Linked DNA regions of Homo sapiens: region 2 is linked to region 1. The links are contacts of gene promoters, found by promoter capture Hi-C in blood cells and fetal thymus (Javierre and others, 2016). All regions are on one chromosome and are shown on one strand. The core of a region is centred on a gene start or on the middle of the fragment in contact, and the rest is flanking DNA. Distances in the headings are between cores, read along the strand shown. Region 1 holds the start of FARP2 (FERM, ARH/RhoGEF and pleckstrin domain protein 2). Region 2 overlaps DTYMK (deoxythymidylate kinase).

The links. Contacts are between HindIII fragments. The CHiCAGO score rates a contact against its expected background, and 5 or more counts as called.
Region 2: a contact is called between a fragment that was not itself captured here and the fragment with the promoter of FARP2 in region 1, in 1 of 17 cell types (neutrophils). The highest score is 6.7, in neutrophils.

Annotation. Positions count from the first base shown.
Region 1 is chr2:241,355,035-241,359,445 of GRCh38, forward strand. It overlaps FARP2 (FERM, ARH/RhoGEF and pleckstrin domain protein 2), which reads left to right and starts at 1,251. Exons shown (of 27, transcript NM_014808.4): 1 at 1,251-1,354. RefSeq lists a silencer at 1,039-1,588. The HindIII fragment of the contact is 16,715 bases long and covers 1-4,411 here.
Region 2 is chr2:241,677,780-241,682,190 of GRCh38, forward strand. It overlaps DTYMK (deoxythymidylate kinase), which reads right to left. Exons shown (of 5, transcript NM_012145.4): 3 at 2,450-2,540; 4 at 673-870. Among named protein-coding and RNA genes, the nearest start is that of DTYMK, 6.8 kb to the right of the region's middle. The HindIII fragment of the contact is 1,700 bases long and covers 897-2,596 here.

The sequences.
Region 1 (4,411 bases), core at 1-2,500:
CACAGCACCATAGGAGGAGTCTCTTAAGTGCCCGGGTGTTTCCTGAAGTTAATTATTCCCTCAACAGCCACATGGTGACAGTGGGTGACAGGGCCGGGCTAGGAGAGCACGATGGGTAGGGTCTTGAAGAACACATAGGAGTTCAATGAACTTCTCAAGAGAAGGGAAGTGTGCCACAGCAAGTCAGTCTTCCATTCTCGGGTGGGGGTCCCTAGGCCAGAGGAAGGCCGTCCTGGCCGCCACCACGGAGCAGCCTGTCTCAGCCTTAGCACAGCCTCGCGCGATCCTTCGATGATCCCCTTCGGTCCCTGTAGTCCCACGAGGGATGCAATGCGTTGGAGGAAGGAGGAGGCTGGCAGCCAGGGACTGAGCCAAAGGGTGCAAGGACAGCCGGCAAGGCCCGGGCCAAGACCTATCCCCGCCCAGCGAGCCAGGCCTCGCCCAGCACCTATCCGCGCCCAGCAAGCCTAGGCCTCGCCCAGCACCTATCCGCGCCCAGCAAGCCTAGGCCTCGCCCAGCACCTATCCGCGCCCAGCGAGCCTAGACCTCGCCCAAGACCTAGCCCCGCCCAGCGAGCCGACTCCCCGCCCAGGACCTAGCCCCGCCCAGCGAGCCGACTCCCCGCCCAGGACCTAGCCCCGCCCAGCGAGCCGACTCCCCGCCCAGGACCTAGCCCCGCCCAGCGAGCCGACTCCCCGCCCAGGACCTAGCCCCGCCCAGCGAGCCGACTCCCCGCCCAGGACCTAGCCCCGCCCAGCGAGCCGACTCCCCGCCCAGGACCTAGCCCCGCCCAGCGAGCCGACTCCCCGCCCAGGACCTAGCCCCGCCCAGCGAGCCGACTCCCCGCCCAGGACCTAGCCCCGCCCAGCGAGCCGACTCCCCGCCCAGGACCTAGCCCCGCCCAGCGAGCCGACTCCCCGCCCAGGACCTAGCCCCACCCAACGAGCCGACTCCCCGCCCAAGATCTAGCCCCGCCCAGCGAGCCTTGGCTTCGCCTAGGACATTGCCTCGCTCAGCAAGCCGACGCCCCGCCCAACGAGCCGAGCGCTGCACAGATTTATATCCTACGCAGCTGCCTGCCTGCTCCCGCCCCTTCTCCGTCCGTTCACCAATCAGAACTCGATCTTGCGCTTTCAGGCCGCGGGACGGGAAGGCTCCGCCCTGGCGCCCCGCAGGCCAATCGACTGCGCGTCCGCGTCGCGGGGGCGGGGTCAGGGCGGGGCGCGCTGCGCGGGGGCTGCCGGCGGGCAGTTGGGAGCAGGCGACGCCGACGCGAGTCTGGCGGCTGCTGCTTGCGACTGCGGAGGCCGGGCGAGGCCGGTGAGGACGCGGCGGGCGAGCGAGAGGCCGAGGGTGAGGACGTGAAGCGGCCTGGGCGCGTGGGGCAGGGGTGGGCCTCTCCGGGTGGGCGGCGAAGCCCGAGGCCCGAGGCGAGAGGCCCAGGCGGGGGGGGCGCTGAGGCCGCGGTCCACCAGAGATGGTCCCGCCCGGCCTCTGAAGGCCATCGTGAGGCGGCTGGAGCTCCTAGGCGGGTCCGGGTTAGAGGAGCGTCCGTCTGTAGGGAGCCTGCCGCGTGGGGGCAGGCGGGGCGGTGGGCCGGGGAGTGGCCCGCGTGGACTCCCGGGTTGAGGGGTGCCGCGTGGAGGAGGCCGGTGGGGCTGTAGACCGGGGAGTGTCCCGCGTGGACTCGCGGGTTGAGTTGTGCCCCGTGGAGGCCGGCAGGGCCGTGGGCCGGGGAGTGTCCCATCCCGGAAGGACACCCCAGAGTGGGCCATAGGGACCCGCAGGGTATGGGCCTGGAGGTGCCTGGTGGAGGCATTTTGAGCCGTTTGCCTTTTTAGCATTTCTTTAAATTGTATCTTAAAGGTGGGAATCAAGTGTTAGGTGTTAATATTTTTACTCCACTAAGGGCTAGAAATACTCATAAGCCAGTGGGTAGCCTTTGGGAAACCCATGAAAACTGGGGACCAGAATATGGCCCAGTACATTACACACCCGAATTACGGGCACCTTTTCCGTTTACGCTATGGCAGCAACCCCTGGCCTATCATGTGCCATTAATGGATGTGAAAAGCAGAAATTAGAACAAGGCATCATTGAAGGAAAGATTGTCAATACATAGTGTTAAAAAGGGATGGGCAAATTTAAAACCCAAGGCCAAATCTTTAAAGGGTGGTTTTTCTCTCTGGGTTTTTGTTTTTGTTTTGTTTCCGTGGGATATTTTTGTCTGGGCCACTGTGTAAATGTTTGATAACCCTGAGGTGGCAGTGGGTTAGCGTGTTGGTCTTGTGTAGACTGCCTTATAACAGGCGACACAGATTTTCTCAGTACCAGAGAGATGGGAGAGGACATTTGAGGTAGGGAAGCATGGAGTAACCTTTACTTGTAGGCCAAATATAATTTAAATTTTCTACATCTGCTTGTTGAAAGTTTTGTTTTGTTTTGTTTTTTGAGGTCCTTAAAGGTTTAGGAAGCACTTCATGCTCGTTATTTATTCAGTTTTCCAAAACTCTTCAGAGACATGACCAAGTTGCACAGCCCCGTTTTAAAGTAGAGGAAAGGGAGGTTGAGAGAGGTGGAATGACCAGTTTAGGGTCACACCTAGGGTACTTGCAAATACCATCTGTACTTCTCATGTGCCCTATCCTTGTTGCAGATTCTCATTAGGTGGTTCACTGTTAACAAACTAAATGCTGATGATGCAGTTTCCTGGACTGCAGACGTTTGCTGGCTTATTTACCTATAGGACTATCAGTCGTTAGTAAATTTCCAGGTTCCTTGTATACTAATTCCTTTCCCAAAGAGGAAGTTGATATAAGGTGTATTCATTTCTCTCTGCCTCAGGTTCCTTATTCAAAAAATGAGTTTAAAATTTACTTGGCCAGGCACAGTGGCTGTAATCCCAGCACTTTGGGAGGCCGAGGCAGGCAGATTGCATGAGCTCAGGGGTTCCAGACCAGCCTGCTCAACAGGGCGAAACCCCATCTCTACTAAAAATACAAAAATTAGCTGGGCTGGTGGCGCACGCCTGTAATCATAGCTACTTGAGAGGCTGAGGCACGAGAATCACTTGAACCCAGGAGGTGGAGGTTGCATTGAGCCAAGATTGTGCCACTGCACTTCATCCTGGGCGACAGAGCGAGACTCTGTCTCAAAAAAATAAAAAAATAAATAAAAAAAGCTGTGTTAACAAGATGCCTGGCACAAGGTAAGTGCTTAATAAATGTTAGCCATTATTATTATCAGGTGGACAAATAATCCGAGTAGAAAGTAGAACAAGCTAACCCTGGATATTTACAAAAAACAGTAGAGAAAAAATTAGGCAATAATTAAGCAAATTTATCCTGTTTAGAGGGAATGGTATGAACTGGATTGCCAAAGCAAAGATCAATGCATGGGCAATTCCATGTGAGCTCATTTAAATCCATTTGGCCCAAAGAATTCAGTTGCTTCCTTCCTTTCCAAACACCCCTGCTTCTAGTCACATCAATACCTCTTCTATATTCGGACAGTAACAGATTTTTCTTACTGCTGCTTGTCCTTTCAGTTTTGTTCTTATTTTTCCTTCACCCACTTTCATATCAGCTTGCCAGCTTCCCCTTTACTCAGTGCGTCATGAGCTTCATAAACACAGCATAGTGCTAGATATACAGGCAAAACCCCATTGTAGTGTTGGATACTGAGCTGAGGTAATTCCGGTCATGTTCTCTGAGATCAGAATATAGAGTCCTTTGACCATAGCGTATTTGTCAATGCCACAGGGAGTTGAAAAGTTGAGGATCCTACAAAGCAATATGATAAAGCCCAGTCTTTGGTGATTTTCTGGGGAGCGTTTAGTTGACAGTGATTCTATAAATTGGTCTAATCTTTTTGGAAAGTAGCAGTATGTGGCAAAGATTTTGATTTTGGAATCACACTTTTCAAAACAATCTGATAAACTTTGTTGTGTCAGTAGGGTAGAGTACTCCATAGCAAGTAAACATGCTTCCACAAGCTGAATCCCATCCTCCCATCCAAGGAAAATTTGAACCATTTTGATCCATGGAAATATGCTTTAAAATGTGACTTAACTGAAAAGTTGAAATGGTGTGTACACAGCAATCATAGTGTTGTAAAAATACATGAGGAGGTGAACAGGATCAGGAGGGTAGTTAGAGTGTTGTAAGTGGTTTTATTTTAAGAGTCATGAATTGTTTTCCCCTAAACTGGTGTTTTAGCTTATTGCCATTTTAAAATTCAAAAACAAAAAGGCCCTATAATGTTGTAGGATGCAGTGATGAATCTTGCTTAATCCCATCTTTCCCCTTCCCCGCCCATCCTCCTGATTGCTTCCCAAAATGAAAATGTGGTCATGTCCTATCCCAGCTGCAAAACCTACTTTGGTATGAGATTCCAACCAGTTGGCCCACT
Region 2 (4,411 bases), core at 497-2,996, 320 kb after region 1:
CACCCTCCTGAACTTAGATGGCCAGGTGCTGCTGCAGGGCCCATGCCCAGCGAGAGGCCGCACCAGAGGACACAGTGGCAGGAACAGGCTGGCGCTCGTGTCTGAAGAGGGGCTGAGGATGTGGAGGATTGCGCAGACTCTCACCTGACCCACCAGACAAAGCGCCAAATGTCAACATTTAGCAAAACTCATCGGGTTAGAATTTGCTGGCACTGGCCGGGCGCGATGGCTCATGCCTATAATCCCAGCACTTTGGGAGGCCGAGGTGGGCAGATCACCTGAGGTCAGGAGTTGGAGACCAGCCTGACCAACGTGGAGAAACCCCATCTCTACAAAAAAAATTAGCCAGGCATGATGGCACGTGCCTGTAATCCCAGCTACTCGGGAGGCTGAGGCAGGAGAATCACTTGAACCCAAGAAGCGGAGGTTGCAGTGAGCTGAGATCGTGCCATTGCACTCCAGCCTGGGTTGGCACCCAGAGCAAGATTCTGTCTCAAAAAAAAAAGAATTTGCTGGCACCGAGAACCCCTGAACGACTACTCCCGGGGCTCCACATCTGGGAGGACCAGACGGAAACGGCAGCAGCTTTGCTGACACAACTGTGCCAGCCACCACGGTGTCATCCTGAGCCACTTCTCCACGCTTCCTAGTGTGCAATTCTGGGATTCTCACCTTCCAGTTCAAAGTCGTGTCTTTCATGAGCTGGTGGAAACACCGGAGCGCCCGCTCCTGGAAAGCCCCGTTCTCATAGCGCTCATGGCCAAACGCTCCCCGCTTGGCAGCATCCGCCAGCTGTAACTGGAGGAACAGGACCAGGTCGGGTTTGGGAAGGCCCACGTCTGGCTGTTTACACCAATCTAGGGAAAAATTCTGCCAAGAAAGAACCCAACAGTTAAAGCTTAGTGTAGTCTAGGTTTTTGTTTCGAAAGTCGTAAAAACAGGAAAAAATGAGGGGACATTTGGTGAGGTACCAAGATGTGAGACTGTTTATATTGTGGCTCGTTTAATTTTTAGAACCTCAAACGTGTCGGTTTCTCCAGTGTCACCTTTGTTTTTCCTTTGTAAACAGACAAGTGGACAGAAAAGTAGGTAGATAGAACGGCTGCCAGTCCCCGCCACCCACAGCCCAGGCCCCATGGAGGCCCTCCCAGCACAGCTACAGGCCTGCTGGCCAGGAGCAAACAGTCTATGTACAGAACCCCTGGAGACCCCCGGCCTAGAACGCCTGCAGCACAGAGCAGCTGGGTCCGGACACAGGCACGAGGTCCTTGGCAGTGTCTTTTCTGCCACACACACGCCAGGGTCTCCTCTCCCGTGGAAGAGCAGGAAGAAGACAGGCACTCCTAGAGCCTGTTATGTGCCAGCCTAGTCTCATCCACTGGCCCTTCTTGCCAGGGCTGTGCCAGCACCCTCTCTCCCTCCCTTACTCATCCCATCTCCCTCCAAATGCTGTCCTGTTTCCGGAGGAAAGGTAGGACCAGAAAGGCTGTGACTGCAGGCCACACATCACACAACAGCACAATGAGCTGAGGGAAGGCGTCCACGAGAACCTCCCACAGAGCCTGCGGCTCTGTCAGCTGATCCGCACAGCAGGAAGAAGCAAAGGAATCATGAGTCTTGTCCTCCTTATTATACAACGTAATACTTCAGAGGGGAAGGACTCAAGCTAACACATGAAGAAATGGCAGAATTAAAAAGTGAGGGCGTGGCCGGGCACGGTGGCTCGCGCCTGTAATCCCAGCACTTTGGGAGGCTGAAGCGGGAGGATCACTTGGGCCCAAGAGTTGTTATAGCGAGCTTTGCTTGTTCCACTGTACTCCAGCCTGGGCAACAGAGGGAGACGCCCTCTTTCAAAAAACGGGGGAAAAAAGTACTACAAATGAACCATCTTTGAAAATGCATCTGGAGGCTGGGTGCAGTGGCTCATGCCTGTAATCCTAGCACTTTGGGAGGCTGAGATGAGTGGATCACTTGAGGTCAGGAGTTTGAGACCAGCCTGGCCAACATGGTAAAACCCCGTCTCTACTAAAAGTATGAAAATTAGCTGGGCACGGTGGTGCATGCCTATAATCCCAGATACTCGGGAGACTGAGGCAGGATAATCGCTTGAACTCAGGAGGCAGAGGTTGCAATGAGCTGAGATCGTGCCACTGCACTCCAGCCTGGGTGACAGAATGAGAGACTGTCTCCCCAAAAAAAAAAAAAAAAGCGTGTGGAAAATATAATCCAAATACCAACTATGGTTCTATCTGTGAAACAATCTCTAGCTACATAAATGTTTGCTCTTCTTATTGATAAAACCAAATTAATCTAGCAAAGAGATAAAAGGAATATAAGAATCACGAAACTCTGCAGAGTAATCTGAGGCATGTCACTCGTACTCGCATTCAAGGGCAGTCCTGGGTCCACACATCTGTGCTCGCCTGACAGGAGGCCAAGTGGCACTCACCTCCTTGGCACCGGTGAAGGCCACACCAGAAAATGCGTATCTGTCCACGACGAGGGTCACGCCCTGGCTCAACTTTTCCTTAATTAACGGCCTGAAAAAGAGGATGCTCCTGAGCCCTGGTCCTGTTTCATAGGCCTTGAACTGTCAAGCTTAAATTATCCCAACAGGCTGTGCGCAGTGGCTCACCCCTATAATCCCAGCGCTTTGGGAGGCTGAGGCGGGCGGATCACAAGGTCAGGAGATCGAGACCATCCTGGCTAACATGGTGAAACCCTGTCTCTACTAATACAAAATATTAGCTGGACATGGTGGCAGGCACCTGTAATCCCAGCTACTCGGGAGGCTGAGGCAGGAGAATTGCTTGAACCCAGGAGGTGGAGGTTGCAGTGAGCCGAGATCACACCACTGCATTCCAGCCTGGGTGACACAGCGAGACTCCATCTCAAAAAAAGAAAAAGAAAATTATCCCAACAATACAACTCAGAAATCTCATATGACAACAAGTACAGCACAGTGATTTGTAACCTTACTTTTAATCCAAAAAGGTCTGGATCTTCTCTAGAAGATGCCATACCCACACCTCCAGCAAAACCCAACATGGAGAAGATAACCTTACTAAATAGTAACAAACACAACTGGTAAAGTTCAATGTTCCAGAAACACGGCAGGGGAAAGGAGATGCACTGTCAGCTGTCTTGGTCAGAGAGGCCAGCTCTACCCTGTCGAGGAAGAAGAAAGCACAGGCAAAGAAGAGAGCAGAGGATGGTGGCGGGGGAAGCGTGGGCACAGCCAGCAGGTGACTCATCCATGCTCATGACCCCTAGCCTGGACTGCAAGGATGTTCTCAGCCAAATACCACAAGTCCACCATCATCCCTACAGCTGCCAAGATCACAGATGTACAAAGACACGGGGCCTGACACTAGTGAGAAGCACTGCTCAAGACAGAGAAAGAAAAGTCCGATTCATTCGACTCAGCCAGTCTCACTGGGGCCTTCAAATCACAGGGGCACCCACATAAGGAGTCAACTGGCCTCTGACAAAGCAGCAGAGGGATGCAATGGTGCAAAGGCATTTTCCTCAATAAACGCTGCTGGAACAACTGGACATCCTCATGAAAGAGAATAAATCTAGACCAGACCGTATACCCTCCACGAACATAAATTCAAAATGAATCACAGGCCTGGCACGGTGGCTCACGCCTGTAATCCCAGCTTTCAAGGAGGCAGAGGCAGGAGGATTGCTTGAGCCCAGGAGCTCGAGACCTGCCTGGGCAATATAGTGAGACCCCGTTCTCCACAAAAAGTGGGGGAAAAAAAAGACAAAATGAATCACAGACCCAAATGTAAAATGCAAAACTATGCAACTCCTAGACAGTAACACAGGAGAAAACTTAGATCACCTGGGGTTTGGCAGACTGTTTAGATACAAAACCAAAGGCACAGCCCATGAGAGAATTGATTAAGATGGACTTCACGAAAATAATAACTTTGTGCTTTGTGAGAGACACTGTCAAGAGAAGGAAAGGACAGCCGGACGTGGTGGCTCATGCCTGTGAGCCCAGCACTTTTGGAAGCCATTTGGCGGGATGGATCCCTTGAGGCCAGGTGTTTGAGACCAGCCTGAGTAACAATAGTGAGACCCCATCTCTACAAAAAATGTAAAAATTAGCCAGGGATAGTGGCACGCACCTGTAGTCCTAGCTACTCCAGAGGCTGAGGCAGGAGGATCACTTGAACCCAGGAGTTTAAGGCTGCAGTAAGCTGTGATCATGCCACAACATTCCAGCCTGGGCAACAGAGCAAGACATTTCTCCTAAAAAAAAATAAGGCCAGGCAGGGTGGCTCATGCCTCTAATCACAGCACTTTGGGAAACCAAGGCAGGAGGACTGCTTGGGTCCAGGAGTTCAAGACCAGCCTGGGCAACAATAGTGAGACTCCATCGCTACAAAAAATTTTACAA